7 separate regions of the Homo sapiens genome follow, and all the other regions are linked to region 1. The links are contacts of gene promoters, found by promoter capture Hi-C in blood cells and fetal thymus (Javierre and others, 2016). All regions are on one chromosome and are shown on one strand. Each heading gives the region's core, a stretch centred on a gene start or on the middle of the fragment in contact. The rest is flanking DNA. Distances are from core to core; before and after follow the strand shown.

The links. Contacts are between HindIII fragments. The CHiCAGO score rates a contact against its expected background, and 5 or more counts as called.
Region 2: a fragment that was not itself captured here is called in contact with the fragment with the promoter of FBXO11 in region 1 in 15 of 17 cell types (total CD4 T cells, activated CD4 T cells, total CD8 T cells and 12 more); the score reaches 19.0 in total CD4 T cells.
Region 3: a fragment that was not itself captured here is called in contact with the fragment with the promoter of FBXO11 in region 1 in 4 of 17 cell types (naive CD8 T cells, total CD4 T cells, M2 macrophages and 1 more); the score reaches 5.7 in naive CD8 T cells.
Region 4: a contact is called between a fragment that was not itself captured here and the fragment with the promoter of FBXO11 in region 1, in 3 of 17 cell types (monocytes, neutrophils and M2 macrophages). The highest score is 5.2, in monocytes.
Region 5: a fragment that was not itself captured here is called in contact with the fragment with the promoter of FBXO11 in region 1 in 2 of 17 cell types (M1 macrophages and M0 macrophages); the score reaches 5.9 in M1 macrophages.
Region 6: a fragment that was not itself captured here is called in contact with the fragment with the promoter of FBXO11 in region 1 in 14 of 17 cell types (naive CD4 T cells, naive CD8 T cells, total CD8 T cells and 11 more); the score reaches 16.3 in naive CD4 T cells.
Region 7: a contact is called between a fragment that was not itself captured here and the fragment with the promoter of FBXO11 in region 1, in 16 of 17 cell types (activated CD4 T cells, naive CD4 T cells, total CD4 T cells and 13 more). The highest score is 18.9, in activated CD4 T cells.

What each region holds. Positions count from the first base shown.
Region 1 is chr2:47,905,248-47,908,512 of GRCh38, reverse strand. It overlaps FBXO11 (F-box protein 11), which reads left to right and starts at 2,015. Exons shown (of 23, transcript NM_001190274.2): 1 at 2,015-3,024. The coding sequence starts at 2,793. It overlaps LOC100506235 (a long non-coding RNA gene), which reads right to left and starts at 2,963. Exons shown (of 2, transcript NR_187636.1): 1 at 2,714-2,963; 2 at 346-1,195. RefSeq lists an enhancer at 1,069-1,853 and silencers at 1,923-2,022, 2,513-2,702, 3,063-3,182, 3,193-3,242. The HindIII fragment of the contact is 3,894 bases long and covers 910-3,265 here.
Region 2 is chr2:48,321,865-48,325,546 of GRCh38, reverse strand. All of the region lies in intron 1 of FOXN2 (forkhead box N2), which reads right to left. Among named protein-coding and RNA genes, the nearest start is that of FOXN2, 9.0 kb to the right of the region's middle. The HindIII fragment of the contact is 1,158 bases long and covers 1,833-2,990 here.
Region 3 is chr2:48,383,092-48,386,736 of GRCh38, reverse strand. No RefSeq gene overlaps it. Among named protein-coding and RNA genes, the nearest start is that of PPP1R21, 56 kb to the left of the region's middle. The HindIII fragment of the contact is 6,804 bases long and covers 1-3,645 here.
Region 4 is chr2:48,247,898-48,251,383 of GRCh38, reverse strand. No RefSeq gene overlaps it. Among named protein-coding and RNA genes, the nearest start is that of FOXN2, 65 kb to the left of the region's middle. The HindIII fragment of the contact is 6,486 bases long and covers 1-3,486 here.
Region 5 is chr2:48,205,621-48,209,098 of GRCh38, reverse strand. No RefSeq gene overlaps it. Among named protein-coding and RNA genes, the nearest start is that of FOXN2, 110 kb to the left of the region's middle. The HindIII fragment of the contact is 898 bases long and covers 1,186-2,083 here.
Region 6 is chr2:48,357,368-48,360,916 of GRCh38, reverse strand. FOXN2 (forkhead box N2) reads right to left here. Exons shown (of 7, transcript NM_002158.4): 4 at 1,770-1,870. Among named protein-coding and RNA genes, the nearest start is that of FOXN2, 44 kb to the right of the region's middle. The HindIII fragment of the contact is 3,537 bases long and covers 360-3,549 here.
Region 7 is chr2:48,337,074-48,340,650 of GRCh38, reverse strand. All of the region lies in intron 2 of FOXN2 (forkhead box N2), which reads right to left. Among named protein-coding and RNA genes, the nearest start is that of FOXN2, 24 kb to the right of the region's middle. The HindIII fragment of the contact is 2,843 bases long and covers 1-2,671 here.

The DNA of each region.
Region 1 (3,265 bases), core at 766-3,265:
CACTTTACTACCATCTATCAGGAAATTGTCATAATATACTAATTTTGCTAAAACAAGGCATTTTACTGCCATATGTCAGAGAATTGTTGCAATAAACTTAGAAATCTAGGGTATGTAAAAGATACCCCTTATACCACATATAACAACCCTAAACCCCGCCCCTCCCATTAATATATTAGAAGGAGAGTTGGGGAAATAAAAGGTGAAAGCAGTTATGTTTTTTAAAAAATTGAGATGATGTGGGGACTTGAAGTTAAAATTACAGAAAATAAACAAGCTACATTTTCTTTACATCTGAATTAATGTAAGTAAAACTTCCACTCTGCCACACCAAAATACAAACTCTTTATGCCCAATATTTTCCTTTTATTAGTATTTCCCATAACACCTTATATACATATTAATGCATACACGGAAGGAGCCAAAAAGTACTTGTCAAATAAAAAAGTAAATTTTTAGAAAAATCAGAAATGATGGACACACTTATATGTATAACGTAATTTTCCTGTACTTTTACTTTTCCCCTATGTTTATTTGAACAAACCTAAAATTGTACCCATTTGCACCTAGCTAACCACCATAAAAATTTGGAGTTCTCCAGCTGTTTTGTAACAGCTGTCCTCCTCAAATATTTTTTTGAGAAACAAACATAGACCTACGTTTCTCTATTTTTCTGGACTAAAGAGAGATCATCTCAAAATCACAGAACTCTTAAAAATTGAAAACAGGATCATGTAGTCTAAAATAAGTTCTTATTTAAACTTGGGAGGTGAGGGGGGCGGGGCTGACATCTAGAAAGGTGAAGTACTTTGCCTGTAGTCACACACCAAGTCTGGGACTCAACACACAGGCTCGCCTCTTTGCGTCTCTCCCTCCTTCCAAAATACATTTTCCTCCCTCTCAAAAGCTTTATCACGCTTTGTAGTTGCTTAATTATCTATGTCAAACCTAGAGAGCAACTGATGACACTCAGAGACATCGCCCAAAGTTCTGAAAACCAGATAATCAGATAAACTGCCAGTTTTACCACATCCAAAAAATGCACAACAAAAGAGAGAAGGGGGAGAATCGAGAATACATTTTCAGCCGCAAGGCAATAAAAACACGTTTCCCTTGGAGAGAGATTATGTTGGGGGCATCAGGTATAAAGGTAATTCCTGTTGAGGGTTTTTCTTTTCCTTGCAGTTTGTGGGACCTAAAAAAAAAAAATTAAAAATTAAATCACATAAACAATCACAACATCAACACATTTACTTCTCTCCTCTCACATATTATTTTCCCACACATTGTATACACTTCTTCAAAGAACAAATCAAATTGGCCAAAGGTCAAAGCCTTTTCAAGGTTTAGATGATATACGATTAGGCACCGACTCCAAACTTCGCTTACCAAGCCCAAAGCTCGGAGACGGAAATCTTCAGGGTTTGCAAATACCCTCAGCTTGGCTAAAGGGCACGAAATCTCTAGCGCTCCCTACAGCTCAGATTTTGAACCCACCTACCACAGAAAACCCGAGTTACCAAAGATTGGCTCCCTCGTTCCACTTTTTTTTCAGCTCAAAAAAATCGGGTGAAGGTTGGGGTAGGGGGGAAGCTGAAACGGCGAACCGAAGGATTAATCACTTCTCCCCATTACATCAGCAACCCCCGCCCTTTCCTCCGAGCACCTCCTCTCCCAGAATCGTCGCTACGCACTGGCGCTCTCTTCGCCCACCCCCTGCTCTATTATTTGCCCTGATACCTCCCCATTATCACCCGCCCCGCCACACTCCCCCTTTCCTCTTTCCCCCTCCTAGGCGGGGGAGGGAGGAAACCCGAGAGAGGAAACAGGGCGTTGAAGGGACTTCGCGATAAGAGCGGAGGCCCCATTGGCCGGAAGGTTGTACGGGCGCCTTAGATTGGCCGCCTGGACGGAATCCCCGCCCCTCCTTTCCCCGCCCACCCACCCCTCCCCCCGCCGCCCCGCGGCCCTCCCCCGCGCCCCCGGCCAGCCCCGCGGCGGGGAGGGACCGACTGGGCGAGTGGAGGCTCCGGCGGTGTCAATGGCTCCTCCTGCCACGGAGCAGCAGCAGAAGCAGCGGCGACAGGGCTGACGAGGAGGAGGAGGAAAGGTTCCTTTAAGGAGGAGGAAGGACGACGCCTCTTTTTCCCCCTATCTCCTCCCTTCACACTCATTTCCCCTTCGCCGAGGAGAGAAGGGGGGGAGGAGAGAGAAGAGACCGAAGAAAGAGAGAAAAATTCCTCACAGAAATCTCTTTCAGGGGGTGTGGGGGGGAGGAAGAGGGAAAAAAAAGAGCCGGGCGCCCCCTGCTCCCTCCCTCCCTTCTCTCCCTCTCTTTTTCTCCCTTCCTCACCCGCCCGCCCACTCCCCCCGCTGCCGGAGACGCCGCTCGCGAGTCGGCGGGACCGGGATCTGTCTCTTCAGCCGCCGCCGCCGCCGCCGCCGCGCTTCGCCTCGGGATCCCCAAGCGGCGGACGCCCTTTCTTTCTTTCTCTCGGTCTGCCCGTCTTTCTGCCTTCGTCCCTCGCGGCCGCCCCGCCCGGCGGCTTCGGCCTTCCCCGTGCGTCAGGCCCTCCCGGCCGGCCTCGCTCGGTCTCCGTCTGTCTACCCGGGCCTTTCTCCGGACTCGGGGTCCCGCTCGCCCCCTCCGCCCTCAGCGTCTCCCCTTCCCCTCGCCCCCTCTCCTTCCTCCCCCCTCTCCCACTCTCCCCACCCCTTTCTCCTGCCCCGAAGCTCGCTGTGCGTGTGCGTGTGTGTGTCCCTCCGCCAACGCCGCCACCTCAGCCCGGCAAATGAACTCCGTCCGAGCCGCCAACCGGAGACCCAGGCGAGTGTCGCGGCCGCGCCCGGTGCAGCAACAGCAGCAGCAGCCCCCGCAGCAGCCGCCGCCGCAGCCGCCCCAGCAGCAGCCGCCCCAGCAGCAGCCTCCGCCGCCGCCGCAGCAGCAGCAGCAGCAGCAGCCTCCGCCGCCGCCACCGCCGCCTCCGCCGCTGCCTCAGGAGCGGAACAACGTCGGCGAGCGGGGTAAGGCCGCGCTACCTCCCAACCGCCCGCCTTCCCGGGCACCGCGGGAAGGGAGGCCGGGGCGGGCGGGCGGGCGGGCGGGCGGGGGCGGCCTGCGCGCCCTGGGGGTGGGAGACCCAAGCTGAGCGGAGGCGGGTCCCCCGGTGCCGCAGTGTCAGCCCGGGCCGGGCCCGGCCGGCAGGAAAAGCCGCGGCTTCCCTTCTCGCCTGGGCTCTCGCTCAGGCCGCGCTTTGTTTGGTTT
Region 2 (3,682 bases), core at 1,162-3,661, 420 kb before region 1:
TTCAAATATTACTACCTTTCCTATAGATACATACATGTGAGATCTACATTTCCTTTCGGTATTTATTCCACATACACTCACATTATATTCCATATATACTCACACATGTATGTATACATTACAAATACACACACACACATAAAATGAAAGAGCTAGTACTTTCATAAATTTAAAAAACTCATTGAATGCTTATTGGTAACAGGTATTGTTGTAAATACTTTACTAGTATTAACTCTTTTAATCTTATTCATAACAACCCTATCAAGTAGTTGCCATTATTAGTGTCTATTTTATATGCAGAAACACACATAGAGAAGGATTAAACGGTGTGCTCCAAACTGGAAGTACTGGCTCCAGAATTCACACTATTCACTGCTACACTAGCCTGACATCCTGCCTAGATTGCTTTTTAAGTACAAAAGACCAAAAACAAACAAACAAACAAAAATCAATAACTGATTCAGTATCTACATCCTCAAGCTAATGCTTCTGTATTAGAAGTCAGTCCAAACTATACTAATCCTGTTCAAATACATTTCTCTATATGCTTGCTTTTGATATTCTAACAACTGGATTGTCTACCTTCCCTCTCATCATTCAGTCAAACCCTAATATTTAAGACCTAATTTAACGACAACTCCTCCACATAATTCCCACCCCAACTTTTTTCTGTTAGAGTCTTTCAATCTCTCCGTGTTCCAACTGCATTTACATTTCCTCTTTTTTACTGTAGTTATTTATGTTAAGAGACCAAAATAAACAATAGACATGAGATCACTTCATAAACACTAAAGTTATTTTATAAGATACTTAATACACACCAAGTCAAAAGTATCGTTAACCAAAGAAAGAAAATAGAAAACAATGGACTCAATATCCCTAAGCAGAGTACTTCAAAAGCAAGCACAACCTGGCTCTAACTTGCTGCCAATTTGAATAGAAGTACAAAGGGAAAATTATACCCAAATCATACCACATCAAGTTTTGTTTTAACTAAACAAAGAAGTCATTTTAATCAAACTACATGAAACAAAAAAAAATTTGAAGGATGAAATATGATATTCATTAAAATATTTACTGGTCCAAGCACTTTGGGAGGCCAAGGCAGGCAAATCACTTGAGGTCAGGAGTTCGAGACCTGCCTGGCCAAAATGGCAAAACCCGTCTCTACTAAAAATACAAAAATTAGCCAGGCAAAGTGGTAGGTGCCTGTAATCCCAGCTACTTGGGAGGCTGGGGCAGGAGACTCACTTGAACCCAGGAGGAGGAGGTTGCAGTGAGCAAGATTGTGCCACTGTACTCCAGGCCTGGGAGACAGAGCGAAACTCTGTCACAAAAAAAAAAAAAAAAAATTACTGAGCAATTTGTCATTCACGTACAGAATACTATGCGTTATACTATGTTTTCCATTCTACTTTGTGACCTTTTCACTTTCTAAATTTCAGGTCTCTACTTAAGAGATAGTTGATGACATATGACAATAGTATAGCAAAAGAAAATTTTTAAAATATTATTTTAATTCCATCTGAACAGTATTTCAAAGTAGTAATTGAAGGAAGTCAACAGTAAATTCATTTGTATAAAAAGCACTACTAAATTGGATAGCCATATGCAGAAGAATGAAACTGGACCCATCTCTCACCATATACAAAAATTAGCTACAGAAAAGACTTAAATGTAAGACCTGAAACTATACTATAAAAATTCTAGAAGAAAACCGAGAAAAAACTCTTCTGAACATTGGCCTGAACAAGAATTTATGACTAAGAACTCAAAAGCAACTGCAACAAAACCAAAAACAGACAAATGAGACCTTAATCAGCTAAAAAGCTTCTGCACAGTAAAAGAAATAATCAATAAAGAGAACCCACATGTGGAATGGGAGAAAATATTTGCAAACTATACATGTGACAAACGACTAATATCCAGAACCTACAAGGCACTCAAACAACTCAACAAGAAAAACACAACTCTATCAAAAAGCGGGCAAAGAGCATGATCAGTAACTTTTCAAGACATAAAGGCAGCCAACCAACATGAAAAAAATGCTCAACATCACTAATCATCAGATAAATGCAAATTAAAACTACAATGAGATACCATCTTACACCAGTCAGAAGAGCTATTTAACAAAAAGACAAAAATTAACAATGCTGGCAAGGATGTGGAGAAAGGGGGAATGCGCATACACTGTTGGTGGGAATGTAAAGTAACAGCCATTATGAAAAACGGTATCGAGTTTCCTCAAAAACTAAAATCAGAACTACCATGACGTTTCAGGTGACAGATATTCTAATTATCTTAATTTGATCATTACACGTTGTAAACATGTACCAAAATATCACATGTACCCTCAAAAATATATCAGTTATAAAAAAAAAACAGAATATTTAAAAATATTGATACACCAATAAAAAACCTCCATCATGACTAAAGTCCACCTCATCCAATCCCTACACTTTGGGGAAAGTAAGCTCCTACTCTGTGTTCTCATAATACCCTTGAATGTATGTTTAGAAGAATATGTCTCATAATGCAATTATTTACTTACATGCATCTTATTCCTAGCACAGTATAAATGAAAGCATTCATACTTTTAAGAGATTGAATCCCACACAAAGTTACAACTAAAAAAAAAAAGAAACAATAAAATAACATCCCTATAAACAATAAAAGCAAGTCTGAAAGAGATGCTCAAAGAGATAAAAATGAACTCCTATTTCAAAGTAAACTTAAAAAAATTATGAGAAATACCTATATCAGATATATATATTGTATTATATATATCAAATATATCAGAAATATATATTGTATTATATATATATCAAATATATCAGAATTAGAAAAGCTCAGACATGAGGTGATAGAGCTCAAGAAAGAATTTAAAATAAAAGGGAAAAAATCATTTCAGAAATGAAGACTTAAAGGATTACGAAAAAAATGTATTGGATAAAATCTTAGAGAAACAGAAGGTGTAAAGAAAGCAAGCTTAATGAAAAAGAAAAAAAGGAGGGGGGAGTGCAAGAATCCGCGTGAGCGTGAGCATGAGCAAGAAAACAGGCTTAACTATAGCATCTAGGGACACATACTTGAGTAATAAAACCAAAAACTTAATTCATTTTCAGAAAACCCAGGACAGTGGTTACTTTTTAAAGGACAGGGTTACACAGGTGCTAGCCTTATAATTCACTAAGTTACACATTTGTTTTGTGTGGTTTTCTGCATTTGTTTCACTTTACAATTAAAAAAAAAAGAATTTAGGAAAATAAACTGCTGCTATTAATTTAAATCTACCTCTAGCCCAGGCACAGTGGCTCACACCTGTAATACCAGCACTTTGGGAGACCGGGGCAGGCAGATCACCTGAGGTCAGGAGTTCGAGACCAGCCTGGCCAACACGGTGAAACCCCATCTCTACTAAAAATACAAAAAAATTAGCTAGGCGTGGTGGCACATTCCTGTAGTCCCAGCTACTCCAGGGGCTGAGAAAGAATTGCTTGAACCTCGAAGGCGGAGATTGCAATAAGCCGAGATCACGCCACTGTGCTCCAGGCTGGGCAACAAAGCAAGACTCCATCTCAAAATAAAAAAGGAACTTACTTGCTATTCTAATTATGTATAATTATTTGCTTACAGTTCTATCTCAGCCACTAGACCTGTAGTTCTCACTTTCAATGTTATC
Region 3 (3,645 bases), core at 416-2,915, 480 kb before region 1:
CATATGGCACAATCAGGAGCTGTGCTATGCGCTCTCCTGGCTCTGCTTTCCAGGGAACAGAAGTAGATATCACAATTTGAATTTCCCCATTGTAATCTGAATAAATGACTCCTGTATGTATTTGTACTCCTTTTAAATTCAAACTAGACCTTCCTAGAAGTAATCCTATCGTCCCCACTGGCAAGGGTCCACAGACTCCTGGTGGGACCTTTTGTGGGGGTTCCCCAGGCAGAAGGCTCACTGCTTTTGTGTAGCATAAATCTACTGCAGCACTACCGGCTGTGTCAGGGGACAGACATTGTACAGGGGTGAGGAAATGGCCTGAGCCGGAAATGCCCCGGTTTGGAACAGGGCATGGGACGGGCCCCTCATGGCATTTCCCAAAATCAGGTTCCCTTCTTTATCAAACTTAGAATGACACTGACTAGCCCAATGTTTTCCTTTTTTACATTTTGGACATATTTCAGGCTCAGCAGTTTTCTTTTTTCCCCTATCTGGTGGCCTGACTTGCTGATTTTTTCTACATTCTTTTTTAGCATGACCATGCTTCCCACAGTTAAAACAAGCTCCAGGAAATGGAGTATTTCCTTTGTCCACTCTCAGTCCTGCCATTGCCTGGGCTAGCAGAGTGGCCTTATGCAGATTACCTCCGCTACCGTCACAGGCCTTGATATAATCAACTAAATGTGCTTTCCGTCTAATAGGTCACACAGCAGCCTGGCAATCAGGATTAGCATTGTCGAAAGCTAATAACCGCAACACTATATCCTGAGCAGCCAAATCTACAATCACCTTTTTTTTATTTTATTTTTTTGAGACGGAGTCTCACTCTGTTCCCCAGGCTGGAGTGCAGTGGCATGATCCCAGCTCACTGCAAGCTCCTGGTTTCACACCATTCTCCTGTCTCAGCCTCCCCAGTAGCTGGGACTACAGGCGCCTGCCACCACATCCGGCTAATTTTTTTGGATTTTTAGTAGAGATGGGCTTTCACCATGTTAGCCAGGATGGTCTTGATCTCCTGACCTCGTGATCCGCCCATCTCGGCCTCCCAAAGTGCTGGGATTAGGGGCGTGAGCCACTGAGCCCCCATGCTGCCTGCAATCACCTTTTTAAGAGACTCCTGTAACCGAGCTAATTTAAAAGGAAAAGGCTCAAATGTAGCTTTAATATTTCCCTGTTGATCTGGGGGGTGTATTCTAACAGGGAACTGCCAAACCTCTAAATCACCCTCTCTTCTAGCTTGCTGGATTCCTGCCTGAGTAGAACTGAGAGTGGTCGCTCAAGGTGCTGCTCGAACAGTCACTGGGGCAACTACTTTTCGCCCAGTGTCCTCTGGAAAAGAAAGATCTGGAGGGTCAGGCCACTCTTTTTCTTCAAAATAAGGAGGGGGTGCAGAAGGGTAGGGATGAACCTCTCCCTCCTTTGCCACTTTAGCTTTAGCTGGCAAACAAACCTGCTCTGTTACTTCGTTATACTCTCCTTCCTCCTCATCATCAGTGTGAAAAGGTTCCAAGGTGGAACGAACCAGAGCCCACACTTGTCCCATTGTTACCCTGATGCTTCCGAGCTCCCCTTGATGCTTCCGAGCTCCCCTTCTTACTCACCACAGGAATTGCTTTAAGAGTACTCGAGTGTCCTCCAGCTTAGTTTCACGTTCTCCAACTGTCGCTCTGGCGACCCTTCAACCTGGGTTCGAGCCCTACGTATGGGCGCCACTTGCCGAGACCAGCTCAGTCAGGGAGACCCTAACCCAGCAGCACTAGAGGAATTAAAGACACACACACAGAAATATAGCATGTGGAGTGGGAAATCAGGGGTCTCACAGCCTTCAGAGCTGAGAGCCCCAAACAAAGATTTGCCCACATATTTATTGACAGCAAGCCAGTGATAAGCATTGTTTCTATAGATTAACTAAAAGCATTTCTTAGGGGAAATAAAGGGATGGGCCAAAACAAAGGGATGGGTCTGGCTAGTTATCTGCAGCAGGAACATGTCCTTAAGGCACAGATCGCTCATTCTGTTCTTTGCGGTTCAGGAACTCCTTTAAGTGGTTTTGTGCCCTGGATGGGCCAGGTGTTCCTTGCCCTCATTCCAGTAAACCCACAACCTTCAGTGTGGGCGTCATGGCCATCACGAACATGTCACAGTGCTGCAGAGATTTTGTTTATGGCCAGTTTTGGGGGCCTGTTCCCAACATTCTTCTTCTTGCCTCTGTTGATATGATGAATTATAATGATGATTTTTAGTATTGAACCAACTTGCACTCCTAGGGCCGGCCCCATTGGTTATTGTCTCTTTTTTACACTACTGAATTTTATTTGATGATATTTTGTTAAGAATTTTTGTGTCTATATTCTTGACGAATATTGGTCTGTAGTTTTTTGGTAATGTCTTTTTTTTTTCCTGTGAGACTGTCTCACTCTATCACCCAGGCTAGAGTGCAGTGGTGTGATCTCGGCTCACTGCAGCCTCTGCCTCCCAGGTTCAAATGATTCTCCTGCCTCAGCCTCCCAAGTACCTAGGATTACAGGCACGTGCCACCACTCCCGGCTAATATTTGTATTTTTAGTAGAGACGGGGTTTCGCCATATTTGTCAGGCTAGTCTTGAACTCCTGACCTCAAGTAATCCACCCACCTCGACCTCCCAAAGTGCTGGGATCACAGGCATGAGCCACTGCACCCAGCAGGTAATGTCTTTACTCAGTTTTAATATTAGGTTAATGCTAAACCTATAGCCTCATAAAGCAAGTTATGAAATATTTTCTTGTCTTCTTTTTTTTTATTGCTTTTAAGGAGTTTGGGTATAATGGTATTATTTCTTCCTTAAATAATAAATGTAATTCATGTGAAGCCATGTGAACTTGGAGTTTGCTTTCAGTTTTTTTTTTTTTTTACTGGACTTTTTAAAGAGTCATTTTAGAGTTAAAAAAATTGAGCAAATAATACAGATACTTTCCATATACCCTCTGCCCTGCACAGTTTTCCCTGCTGCTAACCTCTTATACTAGTATGATACATTTGTTACAATTAATGAACTGCTATTGATACATTATTATTAACACAAGTTTATATTTTATTTAGGTATTCTTAGTTTTTAAACTAATACCATTTTTTCTATTCCAGGACCCCATTCAGGATGCATCCCATTAAGTTGCTGTGTCTCTTTAGGGTCCTTTTGGTTATGAAAGTTTCTCAGACTCTGATTGTTTTCAGTGATCTTGACAGCTTTGAGGAATACTGGTCAGGCTTGTTGTAGGATGCCAAACTACTAGAATTTGTCTGATTTCTTTTTAAAAATTAGGCTATGAGTTTTGGGAGGCAGATCACAGAGGGAAAGTCCATTTCTATATAATATCAAGAACACGTGCTATCAACGTCAGTCATGATTGCTGATGTTGACCTAGCATGCCTGACTGAAGTAGTGTCTGTCAGGTTTCTCCACCATGAAGGTACTACCCGCATCACTGTCCCTTCCACACTAAACTCTGGAAGGAAGCCCTTATGCAAACCCACATTTAAGAAATGGGAAGTTATGCTTCCTCCTTTAGGGTGGAGTAGCTGCATAATTTATGTGGAATTGTTCTGCATGGGAGATTTGTCTCTTTTCCCTCATGTATTAACATATTCAATCATTTATTTGTATC
Region 4 (3,486 bases), core at 987-3,486, 340 kb before region 1:
CACAATGTGTAGGTTAGTTACATATGTATACATGTGCCATGCTGGTGTGCTGCACCCATTAACTCGTCATTTAGCATTAGGTATATCTCCTAAAGCTATCCCTTCCCCCTCCCCCCAATTATTTTTAACTGTGTAGCTCAGTGGTATTAAGTACATTCACATTGTTGTGCAACCATCCACCACCAGAACACTTTTCATCTTGCAAAACTGAAACTCTGTACCTGTTAAGCAATAACTCTTCATTTCCCCCTTTCCCCAGCCCCTGGAAACTATGATTTAACTTTCTATCTATGATTTTGACTATAGGTACGTTTTATCAGTGGAATAATAAAATACGTGTCTTTTTGTGACTGGCATAATGTCTTCAAGGTTCATCCACTTGGTAGCATGTATCAGAATTTCATCCATTTTTAAGGCTGAATAATACTTCATTGTGTGTACATATTTTGCTTAAACGTTTATCTGTCAATGCACACAAGTTGTTTTCACTTTTTGGCTATTGTAAATAATATTGCTATGAACATGAGTGTGCCAATATATGTTCAAGTCCCTGCTTTTCTTTTCTTTCTTTCTTTTTTTTTTTTTTTTCTGAGACAGGGTCTCACTCTGTCACCCAGGACGAAGTGCAGTGGCATGATCTCAGTTCGCTGCAGCCTCGACCTCCTGGACTCAAGCAATCATCCTACCTCAGCCTCCCAAATAGCTGGGACTACAAGTGCATGCCACCACACCCGGCTAAAGTTTGTATTTTTTGTAGAGACAGGGTTTTGCCATGTTGCCCAGGCTGAAGTCCCTGCTTTCAATTCTTTTAGGTGTATATCAAGAATTAGAATAGCTTGACTATATGATAGTTCAATTTTTAATTTTTTGAGGAACTGCCATACTGTTTTCTATAGTGGCTGCACTATTTTACATTCCTACAACAGTGCACAAAGGCTACAATTTCTCCACGTCCTCACTAATAATTATTTTCTGTTTTTTCTTTTTTAAAAAAATAGCAGCCATGCTAATGTGTATCAGGTGGTACAGACTTCCTTTTAAAATCTAAGTACATCTGCAAATAGATGCAAGCCCTCAGCTATAGGTCATTAGCCTGAAAGGTAGCCAGCAGTCCTGAGATGAGCTTCTGGGATTTGTTCACCGGCTGCACTCCCTTTTCTCTGCTGGCTCCCTTGCTGGTTTCTAGCAGAGCCCCACAGACCACTATTGAGCAACTTCTGGGGTGTAAAGTCTCACAATCCCTGATGCCCAGCTGCTCAGCAGCATTAAATATACACTGTGAACTGTACTCTCCTCTCTTCTCCAGCAGCCCTGGTGCTTACTTTCTGTTAGTGTGTGGGGTTGCCTCTCCGTACTCATGGGTCCAACTCCTCCCTAAAATTCCATAGTTCACAGAAGGCAACTGAGGTTTACTTGCAGAAAAGAGATAGCATAAGGACAATTAAGCAGTCTGAGTGAGTTATAAAACAAAATAAAAAGAAAGTGAGGACAGGTTCTGAGGACTTCTTGTAGTGTGGGCTAACAAGGACAAGTGAAGGAACACCTGGCAGGCTCTTCCCGCAACTGCATACCCCAGCATATCAGCCCATCACCCGTGGAGTCCAACTCTGTTCTTAGGGAGCTTTGGTGTGGCCTTGGATTATTTCCTCCATATCACAGACAATTCTAAAAATATTTCCAAAAACTTCCTTATGTGCAGGATAATGGAAGGGAAGCTGTGATTTAAAAATGTTAATTTAACAATGAACTGTTTTGCTTGGCAAGTCAGTAAACCTCATCGTGTCTGTTTTCTCAGCTATAAAATGAAACTCTTGGACAAAATGTCTTAAGGACCCTGCCAGCTCTAAATAATTTTAATTCCAAAACTTTGGGGGACCAAAAAAAAAATCCTTTTACTTTTAGAAATGTTTATATATATATAGTTATATACTTTATCTTGGATATATTCAGCCCATAAATTTTTGAGTAGTCTAATGTTTAAATAAGTGAGTGGTTTTCTAAATATAACTTAGGCAGAGCAGTTCACTTGGGGTTATGCTGGCTGAATTTCAAGTAATCCACCAAGTGGATAATTCACATATGGTCAAGCATTAGAAGGCTCCAACCAGTCTTTAAAAGGCCTGAGAGTCAAAGCAATTCTATCTTATTCTGCACTGTATGGTGACCTGGTTAATACAGAGTAAACCTCTGAAAATGTAGGCTTGAATGTTTGTTGCTGTTTGTCGTCTGCCAGAAAATTGTAAATTTGCGTGTCTGCATTTGCAGAGAGGGCTGTGACTTCTCAGTCATTTGCCCTCTTAGCCATCAATTTTTCTCTTCTAAAAGCACAGCCAAAAATGTCACTGGATTAACTGTAAATATGAAAAGCTGCCTCAGAAGCAAATATAATACCAAGTGCTCAGTGGTACTCAAAGGATAAATTTCCCACGTTTCACTCCCTTTTATTCATTTACTCACTGTCAAATTCACATTGCAAACAGTGTAAAAAGAGACAAAATTCAGAATTGTCATCAGCTCCCAGAGGATCACCAGGATTGAAAGGTAAAAAGCCTGTTATTGCTATGGGCCAGGAGCTGTTTTAATGGCTTTCCCAGCCTGTTGAGAGTCATTTCAGGATGCTGAGTCAAAGAGAGTGAAACTTGGAGTGACCCAGCTGTTAGTCTCTGGCATACCTTTTAACTGATGTCACCAGGCATTTCTTAGAGAGTAGAGTAAGCCACTGTTCTTCTGCCAGTCATGTTCATTTTTGTCAGTTTTTTAAGTAAAAATATTACTTTATAGAAAATAATCCTTAATAGCTACTCATTCAGTCATTCTATATTCTGGATAAACTTTAAAAATAAAGTTAAACATGCTGCCCATGACTTGATGTGTGTTTTTTGTTTGTTTGTTTCTGTTTGTTTGTTTTGTTTTGTATTTGAGACAAGGTCTCACTCTGTCACCCAGGCTAGAGTGCAGTGGCATGATCTTGGCTCACTGCAAATTCCGCCTCCAGGGTTCAAGTGATTCTCCCACCTCAGCCTCCGAGTAGCTGGGACTACAGGCACATGCCACCACACCCAGCTAATTTTCGTATTTTTAGTAGAGACAGGGGTTTCACCATGTTGCTCAGGTTGGTCTTGAACTCCTGTCCTCAAGTGACCCACTTGCCTCGACCACCCAAAGTGCTGGGATTACAGGTGTGAGCCATCGTGCCCAGGCTGATGTGTAATTTTTTTAAATGTGCCAGTAGTTAGTACAAACAGAAGAGAATCTCCTAGATAGTTCTCCATTTTTAAACCACTTAACACTCATTTTAGTAGCATTCAGTGTATAGGATAGATACAAATAAAATGAATTACTTTAATGATTCTAAAATAGGTTTGCAGTTTCTGTTTGAAAATTTTTATTATCAATTGTATCAGTTCAGGAAACAAACCACTCTGCTATTAAAATAGGCAGAAGAGCATTTAAAATAGGGAATTGGGTGCTTTCAAAATTGCTGGG
Region 5 (3,478 bases), core at 385-2,884, 300 kb before region 1:
TGTGTCATGGAATAAGTAAAGCATTTAAAATATCTTATCTTAGAGAACATGATAATGAGAAGGTGGTGTTAGGTTGAGTGGCATGAAATTGCCAATATTTAACCATCATTGGTGTATTAAAAACAGCAATTTTATTTAGTTCTACCTAATAGATTTAAACCAGGTCAGTCTGACTCCAAGGTCAGTATTGTTTCCCATAGGGAGGAAGAGTTAATCCTGACTAGCTGAAGTAAAGTGATGGCAAGAGCCTGGGAGGGTGAAGTCTGGATGGGTAGCAGGGCACACCTGCAGGGTGATGCATCAGGACACTTAGCTGAGGGTGCAGATGTGCTGAGAGCCACAGCTGGAGCTTCAAGCAGGTAAACCCTGAAAGCTCACTGTTCATTGTGTGGGGAGAACATGTGATAATTCTTTTATTTCTATTTTTTCTATAGGTCATATTTTAACAACCATAGTCAAACTTATCAAAACATTTGTTTCTTTTTGTTTGTTTTTCTCCTCTTCAGTTAAAAATAATCCAGGCCAGGCGCGGTGACTCATGCCTGTAATCCCAGCACTTTGGGAGGCCGAGGCAGGTGGATCACCTAAGGTCAGGGGTTCGAGACCAGCCTGGCCAACATGACAAAACCCCGTCTCTACTAAAAATACAAAAATTTGCCGGGCATGGTGGTGGGCGCCTGTAATTCCAGCTACTCAGGAGGCTGAGGCAGGAGAATCGCTTGAACCCGGGAGGCAGAGTTTGCAGTGAGCAGGTATTGTGCCATTGCACTCCAGCCTGGCCAACAGGGTGAGACTCTGTCTCAAAAAAACACAACCAAAACCCACAGGGAAGGATTCCACTTTTTTTCTTTTCTTTTCTTTTCTTTTCTTTTTTTTTTTCAGAATGATGAGGGGAAAAAAAAGAAAAGAAAACAGAATCCATAAGGATAGTTTTCTCTATTACGACTTTTAATAACTCCTTGCTGGTCTCATAAATAGGAGAACTTGCTATAGTTATTTTACAAGATCGTATTTTAAGTAACAGCAGCTTTTACATGACACTTCTTGCATAATGATTTTTTAAAAGAGGAAATTGTTTTTATGTTTTGGGATAGCACTTAATTGCCAGGAACATAAGTTAAAAAAAAAAAAAAAAAAAAAAACGAAGGCAGAATTACTACTGAAGCCTGAAAAAAATAGAAAGCTTCCAGTCCCATTCCTGCAGTCCAAGGCAAAGTCATAATTAACATAATTTATAAAAAAGTTATCATCAAAGAAGGTTTGTCAACAAGCTCCAGCAGCCCAAATCATTGATCTAATGTAGCTAATAACCACTTTGCCATAACCACTCCTATTTACATGCAGAAAAAAAAATCGATACATTCACATGGGCCACACCACAGAACCTTCATCAACTCTGCAAAGGCATTTTGCACATTGCCTGAGGAAGGATTTTGAGTTGATTGTCTAGAGCAGAGTGTGAGAAAACAAGAAACTAAAATGGAAATCTGCAATTACAGCTCAGAATATCTCTAGGGAAGCCAAGCCATTTCAAAGCGCGGGTCAGCAGCACTGGATGACAAATGAGAATGGCAAAGTACTTCTGACCGCTAGCACCTCTCACAATGCACAGAATGACTTTCATTTTTCCCTGATCCCTTTCTTATCTCCCTTCCATCTCACCCCAAATGACCATCCAGACTAGGCATTGTTCATTTTACCTTCAGATACATGCATCCAGTAAACCTTCCATAAATAGAAGCACTCCCAGATCTCTGTCCTACTTGGCCATAGGAATGTCTTCCTATCACTGTCAGCCCCCAAACATATTTAAATGTAGCATATTTGAATGCGAAAGACCAAGTTAGGTAGCTGCCACTCCTGCCTCCACGCTGAACAGAAGCTGAGGCACCACAGATTTGGTCTTAAGAGGAAAGATTTCCTCTTTTCCCTTTGCTGTCAATCTAACTCTATCCACAATTTTTCCTCCTATTCCTTTGAAGACTCCCAGGTCCAGGCAAAATTCCATTTAGAGCTGAAGGGGAAATTTTGGTTTACAAACAAAATCCAAACTCTGATGACTGTAAGTGTTGGGCCCAAAGCTTGGCAGTGAATGGGCGACATATCAGTGAGGATAGCTAGATCTAAGATACTCAATTATGTATTTAAGGATTTTCGGGGTTTGCATCTTCCCAGTTAACTTTAGTGGTGCAACACTGTGGTGCAAGTGGCTGAGTCCTGGGTTGGGCATTAGAAGACATGGGCTGTAATCTTCTCTCTGCTGCTAAGTGCCATAGTGGTCTTGGCCCTGCCACTTTGTTCCCTAAACTTCTATTCTATGTTCCTAGGTGAGACTAAGTGAGGAGACCACCCCTCATATTGTCTTATGCCCAATTTCTGCCTCCAAAGAAAGAAAAAGTAAAAACTAAAAGGCAGAAATGAAATCCACAAGCAGACAGCCTAGCGCCACACCCTGGGCCTGGTAGTTAAAGATCGACCCCTGACCTAATCGGTTATGTTATCTATAGATTACAGACATTGTATAGAAAGGCACTGTGAAAATCCCTATCCTGTTTTGTTCCAATCTAATTACCGGCGCATGCAGCCCCCAGTCACGTACCCCCTGCTTGCTCAGTCGATCACGACCCTCTCACCCGCACCCCCTTAGAGTTGTGAGCCCTTAAAAGGACAGGAATTGCTCACTCGGGGAGCTCGGCTCTTGAGACAGGAGTCTTGCCGATGCCCCCAGCCAAATAAACCCCTTCCTTCTTTAACTTGGTGTTTGAGGACTTTTGTCAGCAGCTCGTCCTTCTGCAAGACTAGATCAGTAATTCTCAAGGAGTCTTCCCTCAGTGACACATCATGACACATTCCCATAACAGTCCCATGATCATATCAGAATTTGAGATTACTCTTTTGGAATGAGACAGTGTTTCTAGTTTTTGTTCTTTTCATTTCCTGTTTCTTTCTTTCCTTTTTTTTAACCTATGCCCTTATGGGTTAAAAAATTATTATTCTGATTAGAAGACCATAATATAAAGCAGGATGACTTAAGACCTTTCCAGTATTAACTTTCTCTGATTCTAAGCAGAAATAGTGGATTTTTAAATTCATGTGTTTGTTTCTGTATCTGGGTACATCCTAGCCTGCCTCCTAAAAAGTATTCAAATATTCGTTGAACAGAATTAAATTGGGTGACTTAAATGTCATTCCCTCTTTGGGGTCAGGGAAGGTCCCCCTCTTTTCTCTCTCTTCTTCACTGCCTTTTGTCTCCCTTCTCCTCCTGTTCCTTCCGTAGCCCAAGAGGTCTTGGGCAGTAGGACAGGTGCAGTTTCGCATAGAACCTATACTCATAACTTTAATCCATGGCCCTGTGAAGCATATCTAACCCCCAAGAGATTTGAGCTTTGCTTCGAGAGAGAACCAAATGTCAGTTTTCCTTTCCCTTTCAGCAGGCAGCAAACAAGAATGTCCTGCAGAGGGCCAAAGCCAGATAGAC
Region 6 (3,549 bases), core at 879-3,378, 450 kb before region 1:
TCACCCTCCTGAGTAGCTGGGACCACAGGCGTGCACTACCCATGCCCAGCTAATTTTTGTATTTTTGGTAGAGACAGGGTTTCTCCATGTTGTCCAGGCTTAATCTTCAGCAAAAAAAAAAAAAAACCCAACACAGCTAAGTAAAACACATAGGTGAACATCAGTAGAACTCACCATTAGTTTCTAAATTATTATTTAAAATGCCTCATAATAACCAAAATTAATTAATAAAGATATCAATTTCCAAGTAAGAATATAAAATCTGGTAACTTCTTTTCTAGGTTTCATTTCATAAAGATAAACCACTCAGTTATTCTTTTTATAATGATCCATCTAATCTATAATATGGTAAAGAAGCTTAAAATCTCAGTGAGTGAATATATTACTGATATTTCAACTTTAGCCTTCCCAGCTATTTACTGTATTCCAGCTACAACCACTCCTCTACAAGTTATCTAACAATACTTTAAGAATTCAAATTAACCACTATATGAAACGTTGATGATTGCTGCAGCTGGGAGTTCATTATAACTTTCTCTCTACTTTTTTCCATGTTTAAAAATTTCCATTTATTACTTTATTAAAAATCTTTTTAAATTTTTCAAAAAACAAGTTAGCCATTATAAACTACCCTTAAAGTATTTTAACCAAATCTGGGATTTTCAATTCAAATGAAGGTATATAATAAATTGGAGAAGACTCTAAAGTCTTCTTTAGAAAAAGGAAACAAAAATCAGATTTAAGAAGGTCATATTATTTTCCGATTTAACTTAAAATGAGGAAGCTAGAAGATCAACAGGGGTTACTGGGATTGAAAACAAAGACAAGGAAAATTATAAGCAAATACAGTACAACTATATTTACCAGAAAAAATAAAAACAAAGTTCAAAGCATTATTTTATTTGCCAAACATTTAAAAATTTTAGACTTGAACATACTTTTCAAATATTAAGTACTACGAAAAAAACCTAAAACAGAAAAAGAAACCTACATATGTATATAAAATGTTATAATGACAAACTTAATAATCTTGTTAAAAAATTTTAAATGTATTTTTAATTTCCTTCATTTTTAGGTTAGCATTAGTATTGCAGACAATTAAAATGATCTGACCTGTTTGTAACTGAAATTATATTACAACTTTCTTTAGGGTTTACTTATACTCAGTATTGACTATATTTCCCAGAGTGTATGTTCTCAAGTCACCAATTTCCTGTATTCTAGAAACACAAATTAGACCATAAGGAAAACTAACTTAGGCTAATGTCTTATCCATAAATACTTCTTAAAAAAAGAAAAGAAAAGAAAAGAAAAGAAAAAACAGGCCGAGGATGGTGGCTCACGCCTGTAATCCCAGCACTTTGGGAGGCAGAGGTGGGAGGATCACTTGAAGTCAGGAGTTAGAGACCACCCAGGCCAACATGGTGAAACCGTGTCTCTACTAAAAAGACAAAGATTAGCTGGGAGTGGTGGTGCTTGCCTGTAGTCCTAGCTACTAGGGAGGCCGAGGTGGGAGGATCACCTGAACCCAGGAGAGGGAGGTTGCAGTGAGCCGAGATCTCGCTACTGCACTCCAGCCTAGGTGACAGAGTAAGACTGTGTCCACAAAACAAAACAAAAACAAAAACTAAAAACTAAAAACTAAATAAAACATAAATACTTCTTTATACAATAAAACAGAAACATAATACCCTGGACCTTTAAGTTTCTCCATCTCACACAGTGAAATCCTATAAATCACCACTGACAGTTATATGGAAGATCCTTACTTTTGTGAAGATGCTGAAGAAAAAGGTTGCTTCTTCAGTGCCTGGATAAGATTGGGTTTATATTCCGGATCAACACACCATAAGGAACCTTTTCCATTAACCTAGAATAAAATGCACAAGAATAACTAGGAACTTTTATACATAAACAGTCAGCGTCTAAATGTTTTAAATAAATGTGCAGGGGTAAATAATCTCTAGCACCTTTTGAGTATGAAACTAAGGTTGAAGTGAGCTTGCTATGTGTGCACTGTAGTGACTAAAAGGGATTCATCCTATGATGTACAAAACTTCCTCTAATTCACAAGATTAGTGAGGTTCAAATGTTATTAGCTTCTGGTTTTATATTATGCCTTTTCTACTTCAAAAACTCTTTCTTAAAATTTGAATTACCTTTACGACTACATTAACAATTATTTAGATAACAACAAAATTTACTTGTTTCCCATTCTCATACTCCTTTTTGCGTGTATCAAATCTTCTATGATATAAGCTATTATGATTGCTATTAAGATTTAATGTGATGATCTCCAGAGTCCTTCCATTTCCCACACTCTTTTTCAAGGTACTACTAGTCTATTATTGACGCTCTTTTATCTCTGAATATCATTTCATAATTTTTATAGCAGAATGGCAAAATGAAAGAACACCGTTCTATAGGTTCAAAAACCAAGGTCCCGATCACTACTTATTGACTGGCTATGTGATATTGGGCAAATCATTTAATTTTTGAGAGTCAGACTTCTCATTTACATTTTACCCGTAAAGTAAAACAACAATGCAGGCCACTTCACTGAATTGTAATGAGATTCAAATAAGAGGATTTATATGCAAGAGACATAGCTGCAAAATAGGTGAATATTAAGGGGCCATTCTGAAACTGACGTACGTAAGGGTTGCTGCATGTTGGTTGAATAATAGTATGTTCCTACTCCTTTACTTTCCACCGAGGAGGGAATTTTGAAAAAAAAACGACAATAAGAAAAAAATACATTAGTTCTGAATAAAAGGCAAAAGTTAGGTGGTAAAAAAAAACGGGATAAAATTAATTTAGGAGAGAATAAAACCTTTTGCCTGTGAAAAGGTGTAGCAATTGAGTGTAAGGCAGTTTTTTACTATGCTGGCAATTTATATAAATAGAAAAACCATGGTTGTCATATCACACTATCATAAAGAAAGAAATGCACTGGATTATCAGGAGAAACATTTTCCTGGTGTTTAGCAGCAAGATATCACATTAACTATACTAAAAAAGTATTTGACATTTTCTTTTTTTTTTTTTTTTTTTCAATAAAAGACAAGTTTTACAAATGTATTTTTGGATTAAATGAAACTTCTTAACTTAGCTATATGTTCAGTCACCTGGACCAAATGATAAATGTGTTTTGATGACAAGGAAAAAAATGTTAGCACCAGGCCAGGTGCGGTGGCTCACGTCTGTAATCCTAGCACTTTGGGAAGCCGGCGAAGGTGATTGCTTGTGCTCAGGAGTTCAAGAGCAGCTTAAGCAACATAGCAAAACTCTGTCTCTACAAAAATAGAAAAAATTAGCCTGGTGTGGTGGTGCGCGCCTATAGTCTCAGCTATTCAGGAGGCTGAGGCCAGCCTGGGTGACAGAGTGAAACGCTGTCTCAAAAAAAAAAAAAGGAAGAATTAAAATGTTAGCACCTACAACATCTTTTGCCCCAAAGCCAATTCAGTTTCATATAGAAAAGATACGCAGCATTACTTTTCATACACAGACCAAGACAATTATTTTAATAATGCTAGCCATGCTCTACCT
Region 7 (3,577 bases), core at 1-2,500, 430 kb before region 1:
TAAAAATAAAAGTGGAGAGTTCAAACCAACCCAGTACAATCACTCTGGAACCCATCTAGAGCTTGACTGTGTGCCTGCCATGGCGGTATCTTGAGAAGAAGGCTTCGGATTTAAATGTACTATTTTTTTTTTCACAGTTGTGCAGCTCATGCATCTCCTAAGGTGTCTAACAGAGATTTGCACATCTGCATATTACGTTCAATGTTATAGTGATATCCTACTCTAGGATAAGAAATATAAAATTATGTATTGGAATTCTCTGATCATTTCCCAAAAGGTCATAGGAGAGCATTTTTGCTTAGGTTGGTATTAACATTGGTAAGAGAGAAATGCTTCAGAGACTACATAAGAAAAGGGAAACAAAGCCACAGAATTTTCAGCATTACCTAAAACATAATATGCTGCATTACAGAGAATTAGATGTGTCACAGTGATAGCCATTTTTGCCCAAAATAACTAAGAAACCTACTAAACACAAAATGTTGATTTAACCAATCAGAATTTTGACTTACTTTTCCACACTTTTAACTGATTAAAGACCGAGTTAACAAAAGGTTTTTTCTTTATACTTTTCCCAGATGTTAGAATCCTTAAACATTACTTAGCCTTCCACATTTAAACATCACATAAAATTAAATTATATGGAAGACATTCTGAGACTTGTTTTTTCCCCCATCGAATTCATTAACATTATTGTAGCAGTAATTCATTTTTACAGAGACTAGTATTCCATTTTATGAATATTCAATAATTTCTTATACTTTTAAGGAACATTTAATTGTTTATGTTTGGGGCTATTACAAGTACTACTGTTATAGAAGTCTTTGTTCATATCACCTGGTATACAAGTGTCAGAAATTTCTCTTGAGTATACATCTAAAAGTTGAACATATGTCAAGAAGTAGAATTATTTGGTCACAGAATAGCCTTCAACTTTAATTGATGACAAACTGCTTACCAAAAAATGCTGAATCAGTTACCACTAACCAGGAGTGTATATACCAAATGCTTCATGTACTTGCCAAAATTGTTTTTGCCAATCTGATGACTACTGTATTAGTCCGTTTCTACACTGCTAGAGGGACATATCCGAGACTGGGTAACTTATAATGGAAAGAGGTTTAATTGGCTCATAGTTTTGCATGGCTGGGGAGGCCTCAGGAAACTTACAATCATGGCAGAAGGGGAAGCAAAAATGTCCTTCTTCACATGGTGGCAGGAGAGAGAAGTGCTGAGCAAACTGGGGAAAAGCCCCTTATAAAACCACCAGATCTTGTGAGAACTCACTATCACAAGAACAGCTTGAAGGGACCACCCCCATGATCTAATCACCTCCCACAAGGCCCCTTCTCAACACTTGGGGATTACAATTCGGATTACAATTAAAGATGAGATCTGGGTGGGGACTCAGAGCCAGACCATATCAACTCTGAAACTGCATCTCCTTGCAGTTTTAATTTGCATTTCCCAGGCTAGTAACAGGGCAGAAGACCTTTTTATTCATTCATATATATCTGTATATGGATATATAGAATATGAATGTATAGATATATATGAACATATAGCTATGAATATATATCTATACATATGCCATTTGGATTTATTCTTCCATAAAGTATCTATTGAAGCCTTGTGCCCATTTTTTTATGGGTTTTCTTAATGATTTGTAATGTTTGGATACTAATAACTTATATGTGATGCAAATATCTTTCCCCAGTAGATGACTTGTCTTTTCAATCTCTTTATTGGTTGCTTTTAGTAAGAAATTTCTTTACTTTCATATGGTAGAATTTATTAACCCTTTTCTTTATGGTCTACAGTTTGTTTTATAATTTTTGCCTTTTACATTTAAATCTTCAACTCACCAAAAATGTATACATGTATTTTTTATCCAATTTCATCTTTCACATATAAACATAAAATTGTTCCAGCACCATTTATTAAAAATTTCAGGCCAGGCGCGGTGGCTCATGCCTGTAATCTCAGCACTTTGGGAGGCAGAGGCGGGCGGATCATGAGGTCAGGAGATTGAGACCATCCTGACTAGCACGGTGAAACCCCCTCTACTAAAAATACAGAAAATTAGCTGGGCCTGGTGGCGAGCGGCTGTGGTCCCGGCTGCTGGGGAGGCTGAGGCAGGAGAATGGCGTGAACCCAGGAGGCGGAGCTTGTAGTGAGCTGAGATCGCGCCACTGCACTCCAGCCTGGGCGACAGAGCAAGATTCCGAGATTCCGTCTCAAAAAAAAAAAAATGGCATCCTTCCTGTTAGGAGAACCTATCCACCATCAGTCCTTAGCATCCCTGCACACTCTCACCTGTTAAGAATGCAAGGCCTTTTATCTGGGCCATTTCTCAGTTTTTTGTTTGCTGCAAGCAAACCTGAGGTATGATTTAACATCTCCTACTAAAGAACAGGCCAACTTCCAGCATTTCTTCTCTGATCGATGAGATATCGAGAAAACTTTTTTTAGTTTCCATGTGATAAAGGAAGTTTTTTTGTGTTACCTATTTCTAACTTAACTGAGTTGGTATTATAACAGTGTATAGGGTATCAATTCTCTGAAATTTGTTGAAACTTGTTTCATGGCCCAGTACATGATTAATTTTCATAATGATTCATTTGATGTTTCTATGGTGCATGGATGAAATATATGTCCATTGGATGAAGCTTGTTAATCGCACTGTTTAAATTTTCTGTATTCCTACTAATCTTTTTTTGGGGTCTGCTTTCTATATCAAATACTAAGGCAGATATATTACAATCTCCTGCTATACTGGAAAAACTTTTCAATTTTTTCCTTGTACATCTGTTAATTTTTTGCTTTATTTTGTGGCTATGGTTATTAATTGCATGTAACTTTAAAACATATATATTCCTGCCAAATTAGCCATTTCCCATTATGTATCAATTCTTTTTGTCTTTAAGTCTATTTGAAATTATATACTAGCTTTCTTTCCATTAATATTAGTCAGGCAGCAGCCTAAGTGTCCATCAACGAAAGAAATGGATGTGGTGCATATACACACGAAAAAGAATGAGATCAGGCCAGGCGTGGTGGCTCACACCTGTAATCCCAGCACTTTGGGAGGCAGAGGTGGGCGGGTCATTTGAGATCAGGAGTTCAAAACCAGCCTGGCCAACATGGTGAAACCCCATCTGTACCAAAAAAAAACCCCACAAAAATTAGTGGGGCATGGTGGTGTGCACCTGTGGTCCCAGCTACTTTGGGAGGATGAGGCAAGAGAATTGCTTGAACCCGGGAAGTGGAGGTTACAGCGAGCTGAGATCACACCACTACACACCAGCCTAAGCAACAAAGGGAGACAACTCCGTCTCACTTTAAAAAAAAAAAAAAAAGAGATCCAATCATATGCAACAACATGGATGGAACTGGAGATCATGTTAAGTGAAATAAGCCAGACACAGAAAGACAAACGTCGCATGTTCTCACTTATTCATAGAATCTAAAAATCAAATGAATTGAAATCATGAACGTCTAAGAGTAGAAGGATAGTTACTAGAGGCTGGGAAAGGTAGTGGAGGATTAGTGGGAGGGAGGTGGGGGTGGTTAATGA